Regions from separate parts of the Homo sapiens genome. Here region 1 is linked to region 2. The links are contacts of gene promoters, found by promoter capture Hi-C in human tissues and cell types (Jung and others, 2019). All regions are on one chromosome and are shown on one strand. Each heading gives the region's core, a stretch centred on a gene start or on the middle of the fragment in contact. The rest is flanking DNA. Distances are from core to core; before and after follow the strand shown.

The links. The method cuts DNA at HindIII sites, captures the fragments that hold promoters and counts their contacts. A contact is called where the count stands out against the background at its distance.
Region 1: a contact is called between a fragment that was not itself captured here and the fragment with the promoter of FER1L6 in region 2, in 1 of the 25 tissues and cell types used here (dorsolateral prefrontal cortex).

What each region holds. Positions count from the first base shown.
Region 1 is chr8:124,143,095-124,150,763 of GRCh38, forward strand. All of the region lies in intron 1 of FER1L6-AS2 (FER1L6 antisense RNA 2), which reads right to left. It also overlaps the pseudogene LOC392268. Among named protein-coding and RNA genes, the nearest start is that of FER1L6-AS2, 25 kb to the right of the region's middle. The HindIII fragment of the contact is 6,836 bases long and covers 1,372-7,669 here.
Region 2 is chr8:123,848,844-123,856,183 of GRCh38, forward strand. It overlaps FER1L6 (fer-1 like family member 6), which reads left to right and starts at 3,144. Exons shown (of 41, transcript NM_001039112.2): 1 at 3,144-3,342. RefSeq lists a silencer at 2,708-2,856. The HindIII fragment of the contact is 12,305 bases long and covers 1-7,340 here.

The sequences.
Region 1 (7,669 bases), core at 3,540-6,039, 300 kb after region 2:
CGGGTTCCAAGAAATGTTTGATCCTCCTTATTATGAACTGTTTTCGCTAAGGGACAAAGACATTTCTGCAGATCTGGCAGACTTGTCAGAAGAACTGAACAACCACTAGAAGACGCGGCACTCCTCCACCACCTCCCAGTGCATCCATGACCACCACTGTGGGTCGCTGACCTCCAGCGTCAAACAAAGCAGGACCAACCTCAGTTCCACGGAGCTTCCTTTCCAAAATGACTTTGCACAACCACAGCCAATGAAAACATTTAATAGCACCTTCAAGAAAAGTAGTTACACTTTCAAACGGGGACACAAGTGCCCTGAACAGCCCCTAGAAGATCAAGTAATGGAGGAGATTCCTTGTGAAATTTATGTCGGGGGGAGAGAAGATTCTGCATAAGCATTCATATCCATTGAATTCTAATCTTCTGCTAAAGGTGATGTGAATTCTTAAGTGTGTACATATGCAGCCTCCAGGGTACCATACTGTTTCCAGCAGCCAACCCTTTTCTCCCGCCACAACTACGAAGACCTTAATTCACCATTAACCTATTATATGGTGATGTTTTTATTCTCTCAGGCAGTCTATGTATGTTAAACCAATCAAGGAACTTACTGTATTCAGTGGAAACAATAATCATCATCTATTGCTTGGTGTCATAAAGCACCACCAGTTAAAGAGCATTGGAAGAGGTGGTTGGATGGAGCCAGGCTTGGGCTGCCTATTAGTTTTAGCAAGGGGAATACTGCTCTTAACGATACAGCTCTGTCAATATTCTGATCCCACAATAAACTTTAAAAAAAGACACAGTAGTAACACCTATTATTTAATAGGCCACATACCCTGATGAGTGTATTAATGCATTACATAATTTAATCTTCCTAACCCTGTGAGAAAGGCATTTTCCTCAATTTAGATGAGAGGTTTAGTAGCTGTCCAAGGTTACTCTGCTAGTGACTCACTGGGTCAGAATTTGAAGCCTGAACAGCCAGGCTTCACAGCTGATGCTCTTTTGCCTGCATCAGCCTCCTGCCCATGGCTGTCCCTCCCATAGGCCTTTGGTGTGAGCATAGAGATTATGGCTGTGAAACTGCTTTCTGTGTTGCAGAGAGACAGAACAAATTCCAGTCATTGTGTGATCTAATATGCTGGCTCCATATCTAACCTCCCTTTGGGGCCCATCTCTTAAGCCACAAGAACCCCAGTGAAAGGAATCAGTAGAGAAACCCATTGCTCTGTCACTGAACAGCTTCCCCCTCTAGATCTGTGATGGTTGTCTTGGGAACCAAGCAAATTCCTTGCTCTCTGCTCTGAGTATGGGCCGGCTGGTACGGCTGCCAGAGATGGGCTTCTGCTGGTTTCTCAGGTGCTGTTGGCCTTGGTGGTTTAGAACGCTTGAAGATTGGGCAGGAATCAAGAGATGTGGGGTAGTTTAAAAAAATAAATAAATAAAAAATAAAACTCATAGAAATTTGGGTAGAGACCAAAACCAGTCAGGAAGACCATCCAACTCAACCTTGACTCTGAAGTTCCCAGGCAGAGAAGGAGACAGGATAGAACGTGGGAAAATCAGAAAGAGGAAGAAGAGACAAAGTGAAGATGGGAGTCAGAACGCAGTAAAACTCCTATTCAGAAAGTATCAGTGCCAGGCTCTTAGAGGAGGGTGGGGACCTTGGGCATAGGCAGAAGGAGCTGCCAAGACACTAAATTCACCCAGATGGGCAGGCTCGATTCGTCATTGCTGTTTGTACCACCCCCTGAGGGAAGGGACCTCAGGACGGTCAGTTTTGATGGGAAGCATGGTTAGGGCTTGAAGAGTTCCTCAAGGGCTGGTGCCGGGTGTCTAGATAAAGTGTGGGAAAAGGGAGGATGGTGGAGCTACAGAGGCAAAAGCGAGCAGAGGGAAGATAGTACACTAGCACACCTGCTCCATGACTGCCAAAGCTGGTTCCAGTGAGAGGCCTCATCTTTGTTTGACCTTGATTCAGCCTTCACTGAGCCAGAGCCACCAACTCAAGTCATACCCTGCCCTTAGGAAATCCACCAGCTTGTTGCAAGAATCACAAGCCATTACTACCCAAATTCACTGATTTTCTAATCAGTCTCCCCAGCAAATAAAAATTTCTCTCATATGTTTCAATTCACAATATACAAAGCATTCAGCTCATGTCTGATAATACTACAATGAGCTATATTACACTAGAACTCAACCTAGCATCCACATCAAAAACCCTTAGTTTTCTCATTGCTTTAAAGGGATCTGCGCATCAAGGCACTTGCATGTTGGAGATGGGACGACAAATACCCATTCCCCCTCGCCTCCAGGTTGTAATCAGCTGGCAACAGGCTTGATGAGCCAAACAGGGACCAGAGAATTTATTTTCTCAATATCAGCAAAGACCCTATCATTCTCAAGGTCATGGTTTTCTAGTCAACTGTCTCCCTCTCCTGCCCTGAATGGAAGGTAGATGGACCAGCATAGCAGGACTAACTTATTAACCAATCCACTGCTTTGCCTTTTTGCTTTAGGTGCTGCTGAGGCAGGCAGGGAATGGTGAGCTCAGGAGACTCACTGTGCCTGGGCACAGACCCAACAGGAAGCAAGAGCCCTGAGAAGAATGAGCAGTGACCTTAGCACATTAGCCTTGTTCAACAGAGCAACATGGCCGCCAAGTGCCAGCCTCCCACCAGCTCTCCAGGACCGAATCAGTCTTGCTTTCTGCTGATGCGGTGGGAGGAGGAGTTAGAGGTAAACTTGCCATCCCAGTTTGCCTAGAACTGAGGTGTTCCCAAGATGTAGAGTTTTTCATGCTAAAACCAGAAAGTCCCTAGCAAATCAGGATGCACTGTTCACCACCTTCCTTAAGCCTTGGCAATGTGTCCCTCCAAAGAGAGGACAGGGTATAAAGAGAAGAAAAGAAAGACTTCTCCCTAATGTGGCTTTAGTAGCCACCCTAGGCTGATGAGAACTGGGATAATTAGCGGATTGTGTATGGGTGTGGGGATGAAATTTTAGATGTAAATACAATACCACCTTAATATTACTGCTGTTCGCGTGGTAGAACTACAGGTGATTTTTACATTCTTTATGCTTTTCTGTTTTTTCCAAACTTTCTGCAATAAACATCTGTAGCATGGTAATCAGAAAAAAAAGATCTCAGCTGTTTTCAAACAATAGTAATAAAAAGAGAAGACCAGTCATTTAAATAATAAAACCCATTTTTAAAATGTGATCCTTTGATCACTTTCTCCTGTACCCCAGATGGGGGTGAGAGGCAAAGTTATATTTATTAACCAGTGCAGAACAACTAGTAAGGAAAATGAAAAACGGATTCCAAATTTACCCTGTGTAGCCTTTGGATACCCAGTGGTAGCATCGCAATTTTCCAGAAGTAACTATTTCACTACTCTCTCCTTCTTTATCATAATCAACAGTGACTATTTAATCTTGATTCACCCCAAACCCACACTACATTATCCTTTTCCTCTCCAGGTACTTTCATCGAATTGTAATTGTGATTTAATGTTATGCCCTTGATTTAAATAGCGTTACTTTTTGAGCAAGCATGGCTGAAAATACAATTTTCTCTATTGTATTCAGACCCCTTTCAAGGAATTAATGTTGGAGACTGAGATGACAAATTCTTTATTCCCCTTGCCTCCAGGTTGTTACCAGTTGGTAATGACACAAGGGGCCAAGCAGGGACCAGATAATTCATTCTCTCCATAGCAGCAAGGACCTTATCACTCTCATGGTGATGGTTTTCTAGTAAACTCTCTCCTTCCCCTGCCCTGAATGGAAGGTAGATGAATTTGCTCCATTACCTGCCTAAGTGAGGAGAAAATCTAAAGAGACAGACTCTTGGTCCAGATTCAGCACCTTCCTGAATGTATACTTTTAAACATTCCCAAGATTCAGCTTCTTTGTCCCAAAGGCGGAACTGGGTGACACTTTTTATCCAAGTTTCAGAGTGCCCCTGGGAGGCTCAGTCAAAAACAGTGAGCATAGAAGCGCTCTGCATGCTATAGGATGCTATACAAAGATTTTAAAGTATTTATCAAGGGACTGATCATTTTGCCTTAGGTGCCAGGAAACAGAAACCAAATCAACCAGAAAATAAGAACACTTATTCATTCGTCCCTGCATCCAAAACGCATTTCTTTGTCAGATGAGTAAGACAATCTAACCTCGGACTGAGCCCAAGGCACAGTACACAGTGATGCTGCAGGCTTCCAGACCATCTTCCACCCACTCCTCTTAGTTCCGGGCTCTGGGTCCCTATGAGACAACTCTGATCACCACTGTGTTTGAAAAGCAAAGCTTCAAACCACTTCTCCACTGCTAACTGATAGAAAGTCACATTTTTTCTTCACTTTTACCCAAAGGGAAAAATAAACACTTCAAAAATGACAAAAGTCCTTCAGGCAGAAAACTGGACTCAGAGCTAGAAAAGCCAGACAGTAAATACCTGAACTAGCTGGCAGGAAAGATCTCTAAAGAGTTTCTTCAGGGCATCTCCCAGAAAGAATGAAAATAAACCTTTTGAAAACCAAGCAAGTAGGTCTCACGCCCTTTATATACATTTATTGCAAACTTTCTTTCAACCTCTGGCTTGGTGCAAAGAAATCATTAAACACACAGACACACGCTCAGCCAGAGAAGCCTCCACTTCTAGAGTACTGAGGCTGAGGGAAGATGAGGATGACTCACTTCCCCACAGACCAAGTCTGTTTCCCAAGTAAGCGACATCCCATATAATGTAGGTGGCTGCTGGAAAGCCATCTGGATCCCCAAATAACGCCTCTTATCTCAGCCCCTCCTTGTCCCACTCCAACCTACCTTACGAATGTCTGAAACTCAACCCCCTTGTGATTTCACTCGTTTAGGTTAAGATATATCCCTGTTATGCCACCCACTCCAGGTGTTGGCAAAAGTGAGCAGAATTTGGCAAGCCAAGTTCCAGGCATTTGCAGGAGCAAAGGAGTTAGTAGTGAGTCATTGAGAATGGAAAAGTCCTCCCTTAGATGTCTGTGGAGAGCATGCTGCAGCCTAGTGGTTCTCAAACTTCAGCATGCCTCAGGATCTCCTAGAAGGCTTGTTAAAACACAGACTTGGCTAGATATGGAATTTCAGCTTCAAAGATACATATCTTCAGCACTTTGAGGCTGGTTCTTTATTGTCTCATGGCATCTGATGTGGCTCCTGAGAAGTTGATGGCACTGATTGTACCCCTTTGGAGGTAATCTGCTTTTCCTCTATGGTAGCTGTTAGGTTTCCCTTTCGGAGCTTATTCTGAAGCAGTGCTACATTGTGCCCAGGTTTGATTTTGTTTTGTTTTGTTTTGAATTCCATTTTGTAGATCTTTTTTTTTGTTCTGAGAGCTCAAGTCTTTCCTCAGTTCTGGGAATATCTCAGGCAGTAAATTTTCACATGTCATTTTCCAGCACCTTATTTTATCTTTTTTAACCCCTATGTTGTATCTTCTTGCTCTGTCCCCTCTACTTATCTTTACTTTCAACTTTTCTACCTCTTTATCTTTTAATAATTAACCTTAGAGTTTACAGATTTACTCTTCTATAATCTTCAGAATGTTGCACTTGTTAAAATAACAAATTAACTGCTTGTTCTTCCTTCATAATCACTGTCCTTGTTCAAAAATCAATGAATTTTATTCATTCTTTTATCTCATATAGACTATTAAATATATTCATTTAAGTGTCTGTCCCTAATATACACACTGCTGATGGTTTACTGTTTTCTTTCTCTGTTTCTAGCCTATAGAGATGCCCCTATATTATTTTAGAAGGCTGTTAAATATTTAGTAATATAGTTATTATTTCTATGTGCTTTTGAAATAATGCCATTTATCCCATGCTCAACCCATCATTTTGGGAGTATCATTATATACTCTCAATCCTTTTCAGTTCCCAGCAGCTGCCACCAGCATCCTCCAACCAACGTTATCTCCTAAAGCCCAGAGAACACTTTGCAAAATACATATGGCTGTCCCTTAGAGAGACCTCACAGTTCCCATCTCTGCTATCTCTCTGTATTCAGGAAGCATAGTGGGCAAATGGGTGGTCTAGATGCTTTTTTATTCTCTGAGTTCAATTTAATATAAAAAGAAGAGGAGGATAGAAAATAAAGCCATTTATTCAGGCTCCTGTCTGAGGTGAATAACAGTATCTATTTCTCACTTCTCACCCACACTGTAACATTTATCCCAGGAAAATCAAATCCATAGCTTACCAACTGATCTATGTTCCATGGGGCAGACTCAGTTTCATTCACAGCTGTATCCCTTGTAACTAACACGGCTCTAACCTATAGATCGAATGAACCACTTTAAGGAGGGAGCAAAATATGTTTTATTAAATCTATTTCTTGGTTGAGCAAACTGAAGGTCAGTGTCACAGCCAAATATTACAGGAACTAGGACTAGGACCCAGAATTTCTTGACCCAATTCAACACATCCCAGGAGAACCAATACAACTCCTGTTGACGATGTGTTGACTAACCATTCCTCAAAGGCATGAACTGCATCTTATTCATCTATGTGCCCATATGAACACTCAGAAGCTATTCAATAAGATGCTTGTTAGAGTATTATAATTAAATTACTAAGATTAATTTTCCATTGGTTTCTTCATATTTTTGCATTCATGGAACATACTGGAACCTAATGATGACATTAAGAACCCTCTCCCCAGAAAAATGCACATCTGTATGCACACATGACACACAACATTTTGCATCAATTTCAAAGGTCCTCCAAACTTCTAAAGCTGGGTAAGATCTTAAAATCTCCTTTCAAAGTCTTGAAATTCTGGGGCTTATAAGAGGCCTTAAAGATTACTGATTTCAATTTCCTTATTTTATACATGCAGAAACTGAGGGCTAGAGATAGGAAGTTACTGGTAGATTGATCCTAGAGTACATGCAAGGAAGGCCTGGGATATCTACTGTTTGGAAACCCTCAGAATTAACTGGGTAAAGAGACCCTCCACCTCCCTTGGACATGGACTTTGCTCAGAACTGCTCTCTCTACCCTTACCTTCCTGAGCTTCCCATTGGCAGAAGTGACCTATCCAAAGTCTGACAGCCAGAAGCCCTGAGACTAGGACCCAGGTCTTCTAGCTCCCAGCCCGTTGCCCTTTCCATGACAAACTTGATCTCCCAAAGTTTTTCGACATCTTCTCTCTCTCAGCCAGCTTCTCCCACCTCACCCTTCCTTCTGGGTTCTGCTTTCATTGGGTGCTTTCTTACATGACATTCCCCGCTTTTTTATTAAAAAGGAATCAAAATCTCAGTTCATCGAGTGAAAAACAGATCAGGATGCTTGAAACCAAATTTACTTGTATATTTCCAATGCAATGCTCCCTAAACCAAACTCTTTACAAATAAATAAATCAATCATGACGTGTCACTTGTTCCAATCCTGAGGAAACAACAACATAAATAAGACAAAGTGATGGGACTGGATAACAGGTGTCATTTAAAATCATGTCCTGAAAATGTCACTAGAGGGTTGGGTAAATCTCTGTTAAGCTAAAATAAGTTAAATGCAAATAAATAATATTTAGGGAGAAATATGGGCACAAAGCAAAATTAAGTTTTGCTATTGATAACACGCTGTGATTACATCAAACGAATTGACGCTTCCGGTTAATAA
Region 2 (7,340 bases), core at 1,894-4,393:
CTTCAGTGTTCTCTCCATTATACTAATTCAAGCATTTCCATATAGTGTGGCTTTGGGCAAATTACATCACTTCTCTGAACTTAGACTTCCTTAGCTGCAAAGAGGGGCCGGAACTATTCCCTCACCATAATGTATTAAAGATGTAAAGATATACTGTTATTAGAAAGCACAGCATAAAAATGCCTAGTAAGCTTCCTTTAGCATAAAAATGCTTAGTAAAATTTCCTTCTTTCTTGCCTCTGTGCTTTTATTCTTAGGAATCTTCACTTACTCCTTATTGTGGGAGGTAGTGAATAGTTCTCTCATTTTAAAACAGGCTAGCATATTTTAAGAATTCATCTTATAAGAGCTAAGTTTCCAGTTTCTTGGAGCAACTTAGACCCTTGATTGCCTCAGTATTCATCCAAGAACACAGCCTATCAATTCAATGAGTTCTTTAGACTATGGGGATCACCCACAATTATATCTACATGCTGGAGCTTTTCCTTTAATCTTTTTAGGGTTCCTCAGTTCAGCCCAAATTACCCATCTCTAGTTTTCATGCCGTGAATGACAATCACAGCAGTGGAACAGCCCCTACCAGCAGCCTAGGCATAACAGTTCCCAGAGCCATGCTTTTTAATCATGGAGGGAGGAACATCAGTTTTGAGGATACTGGCTGAGTGACCTTGAACAGGTTGCCTAAGCATTCTGAGCTTCACTTTTCTCATCAGGAAAAAATGGGGATAATAAGAAGTCCCTCGGAGATTGATGCAAGGATTGAATAAGGTAAAGTGAGAGCATCCAGTGCATAGAAAGTAAACAGAATAGCATCACCTTCAGTAAGTCCTGCCACTTATGCACAGCTCAGCATCCTGTTATTATCACCTCTGCAGGTGCAATGTCATCTACCAAAATGTTCCTTTTTATAAAAAAATCCATGAAGAAGGGTTTCAGCCTTTCAGTCAGATGTCATTTGTCTCTAAAGACTGAGCTGTAATCAAATTTCCAGACCTGTTGTGTCCTGTAGGGAACATGAATTGGTCACAGCTCAATCAGATTCTCCATTCTTGCTGCCACCTCTCCAGCATCTGTGAATATGAATGAGAAGAATGGTGGGACACTAAGAGGCCCATGTGTGGGATTTGAGTAACTTGAAATCTGAGAAGTTAATTATATTCCATCTGATACAGCCCTCTAAATTAACTTGTACCTGCTGAGATCTCTCAATCCATTTCAAACACCAAGAAAAAGGATGAAATAAACTGAAATTTATTCTGAGATAAAATGTGTTTTTAATGAGAAGTTACAGAGAGAATAGTCTAAAAGGATCCTGGCTAGTTAGTGAGTCTATGTTCCCCTTCCCCGCAAAATCATTGCTCCAGCTGGGCTATATTTATGAAATAGCCCCTCAACCCTTCCCTTTCTCAGATGTCCTCACGAAATTGGAAGAATCATATACAATGTGTGTGTGTGTGTGTGTGTGTGTGTGTGTGTATGTATGTGCTTACACATGTCTGAAATGAACATTTCCAGTAGCCTCAGGAAACTCTTGTGCTTCTTCCTAATTAATGTCCCTCCTCAGAGGTAACCATTCTTCGTTTTTTTATTTTTTCTGAGACGGAGTCTTGCTCTGTTGCCCAGGCTGGAGAGCAGTGGCATGATCTCGGCTCACTGCAACCTCTGCCTCCCAGGTTCAAGCAGCTCTCTGCCTCTGTCTCCTGAGCAGCTGGGATTACAGGTGCCTGCCATCATGGCTGGCTAATTTTTGTATTTTTAGTAGAGATGGGGTTTCACCATCTTGGCCAGGCTGGTCTTGAACTCCTGACCTCATGATCTAACTCAGCCTCCCAAAGTGCTGGTATTACAGGTGTGAGCCACCGTGCCCAGCCGAGGCAACCATTATTTTGACTTTTATCACCTTTTGTGTATCTTTGAGTTTCATATATGTGGAATGATACAATTTGTACTCTTGTGTCTGGTTCCTTCCCTCATCAGTTTGTGAGACTAGTTCATGTTGTTGCTCATGGTCATAGTTTTTTTTTGTTTCTGTGTGATATTCCATTGTGAAAATATACTGAAATTTAGTTATCCTTTTTATGGCTGTTGGATATTTAGGTTGTTTTCAACTTTTGCGTATTATGAATATAGCCGCTATGAACATACTTGTGTTCTCAACTGGCCCTGGAATTCTTCTGTTTGCTAAAGTACCCCCAGGAAGTGTGTGCTAGAAGAAAAGGTTTGGGGAACTTGTGTTTTTGCATAACAATTCTTAATAAGAAAGTGCAAGAAATGTCGATCATTTCCCCGGGGGAGCAGGAGGGGAGAGGGAATGGTGATGGCTGTAGGTCTACTGGGCGCTGGAACCTCCACCAAATCTCCAGGGAATTTCTAGAGTCACGAAATGTTCTGTGTGAGGCAATGTACATATATGTACACAAATATGTTCACCACAAAATAAACTCATGACAATAACAGTCCTCATTTCTGTAACTGGGCACATGGTTGTACCTGATACTTAGAACTACCTTCTGCTACCCATTCTGAATTCCCTTTGTACTTGGCAAACCTTTCAGCTGGTTGAGGTTCTTTACCTGGTAGGATGACCCAAACCTTCATTCCTGAAGGGTCTGGGCCATTAGTAGTCCTGCGTGAATTGGATTATTGTAGTTTTCCATGAATTTAATCACAAATTTTAATCACAGGGTATGGTAATACTAAGAGATGCCCTAAGGGATCTCCTGTATTCCAGACATATTCTTTCTTGCCTCCATTGTGGAATAGTAGCACATTTTCCCCTTGGTAGTCAGGATCAGTCGCCCTAGACAACACCAAAACTTTGCCTGTCAATTCAGAGGTATGAGGAGCCCAAAGTGGCTGGCTGTGGCCTTAACTTTCAGTGCAATGGAATCACTGTTGTATCTGCTAGTGGAAGCATTCTTTTTTGGAACTAAGATCTCTAGGCTAACAGGATAATAAAGGAACAAGAGGCAAAAATTTTGCTAGTGAGTCATTAGGGGTAATAGCAAGTGGTGCCATCCCATTTTTACCCCTTGATCTCTGGACCCATGAGTCCTGACTAGCACCTGACTGGATGCTGATTCAAAGAATACACAGCTTTCTGTGGAATCTTGCCCCACTTCTGTAAAGTACTGTCACCTAGTTGGTGAGGTTGCCTGTAACTGACTTCAAAAGGCCATTCCACCATTCCGTCAAGCCAGCTGCTTTAGAACGGTTGGGAACACCGTGAGACCAGTGAATTCCACGAGCACGAACCCACTGCTGCGCTTCATTTGCTGTGAAGTGAGTCCCTTGATCAGAGCAATGCTGTGTGGACCATCGTGAAGGTGGACAAGGCATTTTGTAAGTCCATAGATAATAGATTCTACAGAAGCATTGTGTGCAGGGAAGGCAAGTTCATATCCAGAGCAAATGTGTATTCCAGTAAGGACAAAATGCTTCCCCTCCCTTCCACAATGGAAGCAGTCCAATGTAATCAACCTGCCTCCAGGTAGCTGGCTGGTCACCCCAGGGAATGGTGCCATATATTGGGGACTCAGCATTGGTCTCTGCTGTTGGCAGATTGGGTACTCAGTGGTCGCTGTAGCCAGGTTGACCTTGTTGCTTGAACTCCATGTTGTGAGCATGCGTGTGTGTGTGTGTGTGTGTGTGTGTGTGTGTGTGTGTGTGTTTGACAGAGACAGAGGGAGGAGAAAGAAGAGAGACTGGTAAAATTTTGGGGGATTATAGAGACAAAAAGCATGAGGAAGTTGCCTCAGGAACTCATAGAAAATGTGGGGCCTCTCACAAGATTGTTAGACTTTTAAAACATAAATTTTTATTTTACAGAAAAGTTGCAAAGATAATTGAGTTCTCTTAAATTTCTCACTCAGTTTTCCCTAATGGTAACATCTTATATTACCATGGTACATTTATGAAAATGAAGAAACTGAAAATGCAGCATTACTATTAACTAAGCTCCACGCTTTATTTGGATTTCACAAGTTTTTCCACGAATGTCTTTTTCTGTTCTAGGAGCCAGTCCAGAATCCCACATTGTAATTTTTGGAGATGGATTTTGAGGCAAATGTAATCATCCCTAAGGTTATATATCATATATCATATATGAAATATGTATTAGATATAGATGTATTCTATGTGTCTATTTAGCTACCTATCAGATCAATTTTATTCTTATTTTTGTAGAGACGGGGCCTCGCTATGTTGCTCAGGTTGGTCTCAAACTCCTGGGCTCAAGCGATCCTCCTGCCTCAGCCTTCCAAAGTGCTCGGATTACGTGCGTGAGCCACTGTGCCCACCCTCAGACTTTAAAATAGACGAAATCTTTTTTTGAGACAGTCTCACTCTATAGCCCAGGCTGGAGTGCAGTGGTACAATCTTGGCTCACTGCAGCCGCCACCTCCCAGGTTCAAGTGAGTCTCGTGCCTCAGGCTCCAGAATAGCTGGGATTACAGGTGCTTGCCATCACACCCGGCTAATTTCTGTATTTTTAGAGAAGACGGGGTTTCACCATGACGGCCAGGATGGTCTCAAACTTCTGACCTCAAACGATCCACCCACCTCAGCCTCCCAAAGTGCTGGGATTATAGGCGTGAGCCACCGTACCCGGCCTAAAATAGAAGAAATCATTTTTATTCAACAGTTCTTAGAAAGGTCTTAATGAGGAAATGATACAGATGATGATTTGGACCCAAGGCTGTTGAAAAATTGTTACTTTTTTCCTGGGGTATTGTATTAATCAGGGGAGATTTTACAAGGGTGGATGAGTAGAGAAAAAGGGGTAGGTACGCCTCACCACGGGCAAGCGTGGAGTAACATATTTTGAGAGAACCTATCCAAGTTGCACGTATGCAGGTGACATGCTCATGGCTATGATGAAGACCTGGAGGAGGAAAAGGCCAGAAAGCTGCAGACAACCCAACAGTGTCAAGCACAGAGGCTGGTTTTCACTGAGAACGATGTAAGAAGGAACAACATCGCGGCCTTGATGAAGCCACAGTGATGCTACCCAGGGACTCTGCAGAGCTGCCAGTCTCCTGCAACTCCACAGAGCCTGGACAGGGCAGCAGAAGGTGCACCTCTGAGGAGCAAAGGATGCAGGGCTTCTGTGGGCCTGGCTCTCAGGGAAGCATCAGGGACCGTGATTAGAAAGTTTACGTCTGAGTGCTGGCCCTTCAGTAAAGGCCTGTGTGACTTCTGGCAGGCTCCTGTCAGTCCTGAGTCTCTTCATCTATAAAATGAAAAGACGTCTGGTGAGATGGTTTCTCAGGACAGTTACGGCTCCAACATGATGCCACGGCAATTATAACATAAACAATGCCTTATGTTTGTAAATGATCTAGGCTTTTCTGAGCTGTTTCGAGGAAGTTATTGCATTTTATCCTTATGACAACACTGAGAGGATGAGAAAAAAATATTACCTGCATTTTATTACTCCTTTCCCCAGTAGGGTGTTGATACCCTCTAGATCATTCCAAGCTCTGGGGAAATCCAAGGCTCCTCCCACAGTGCACACCCAGATGTCTGCGTGTTCTGGGAGATTATGTGGTTGCAGTCACAGTCACTTTCCTTCTGGGCTGTCACAGCTTCATCTCGGATCTCTGCTGTGTAGCATGTCAACTCAAATGTGAAACTTAGATTCATTGCCACAAAAGAGTCCATCACACTGTGTTTCTGAGTGTGGTGGTCTATGATGGGGATTGGGACAGAGGGCCAATGGAGGAGGTGTTCCCATTTCAGGAATGTGAATAGAACAGGGGACCGAAGGGTATCTTCTGTCCCTTTATTACCAAGGGTGTCTTCACAGGCCCTTCTCATTTTGTCTAAGCCTTGGGGATGGGCTCTCAGCAGAACAAAGAAAGAAGCCCATTCTGGGAGGAGGAAGCAGCTTGAGCAGAGGTGACTGTGGGGACTGCCAGGCATGGTGGGGGATAGCGGGAGACTGTGGGAGTGAAACTGGGAGTGAAAGCCAATCTCTCCAGGCTTCCTGGCACTGCGTTTATTCTTCTGCTATACACTTACCATAATCTGTCTCGTATCCTAGTTTGTTAAAATTTTTATTGAAGTGAAATTCATGTAACATAACTATTTCAAAGTGTACAGTTCCGCAGCATTCGGTACATTCACAATGGCTTACAATCATCACCTCTACCTAGTTCTAAAGCAGTTTTAGCTCCAAAGGAGACCCTATTACTCTCAGCTTTCCCTCTTCAATCGGCCCTGGGTCACAATGAATCTGCATTTTGTCCATACGGATTTACCTATTTTGGAGATTTCATATAAATGGAATCGAAGGTTGCCCAGGGGACAGATGAAAAGGCTGGAATTTAGCTCAAACAGTTCAGGATCCAGGACAGTTCCAGGCATCATGGGAGAGGGATGCTGTGATGCGTGCTCTCAGTTCTTTTATGTGTTTGGGGAGCCTGACTGGAATGGATAGTAGGTGGCCACAAAACCACAAATGGCATTCCATTTAAAACTGCGAGCTCCTGGCAGGCAGGGAGTTGGTTTGATTTTTTGCTGTGTCCTCTGCTCTGGGCCTTGAGTAGCCTTGGTAAGTTCTGGTTCTAACTTAAACAATACATAGAGGTTGGTGCCATGGAGGGCAGGCGTAGAGCAGAGGGTTGGTTAGAGCCCACTGAGTTCTCATCCAGGGCATTAGTATGGAATGGGAAAAAGGGAGTGGGCAATAGTTGGATGTGTGGGTTTATGTCCTGACTCTGCCATGGACCAAAAACATGATCTTGGGCCGGCTGTCTTCCCACTGGACCCCACAAAGTTGTAAACAGAGTGGAGCAAGAGAACGGATGTGAAGGAGACTTTTAAAGTGAAAACCATATGTGTGTGTGTGTGTGTGTGTATATGTACACACACACACACACACATATACGTAATATGTGTGTATGTGTGTATATATATGTGTGTGTATATATATGTGTGTGTGTGTATATATATATATATGTGTATATATATCAGCACAGTAGGGCTGGTCATATGGGCCAGCCCCATATGACCCTAATATATTATGTATTAATGTATATAACTAATGTATATTATTACTAATTATATTAGTATATTGTATATATTACTAATATGTAACTAATGTAGTATATATATTACAGATATACATATGTATATGAGATATATGTATATACATATGTATATGAGATATATGTATATACATATGTATATGAGATATATGTATATACATATGTGTATGAGATATATGTATATACATATGTGTATGAGATATATGTATATACATATGTGTATGAGATATATGTATATACATATGTGTATGAGATATATGTATATACATATGTGTATGAGATATATGTATA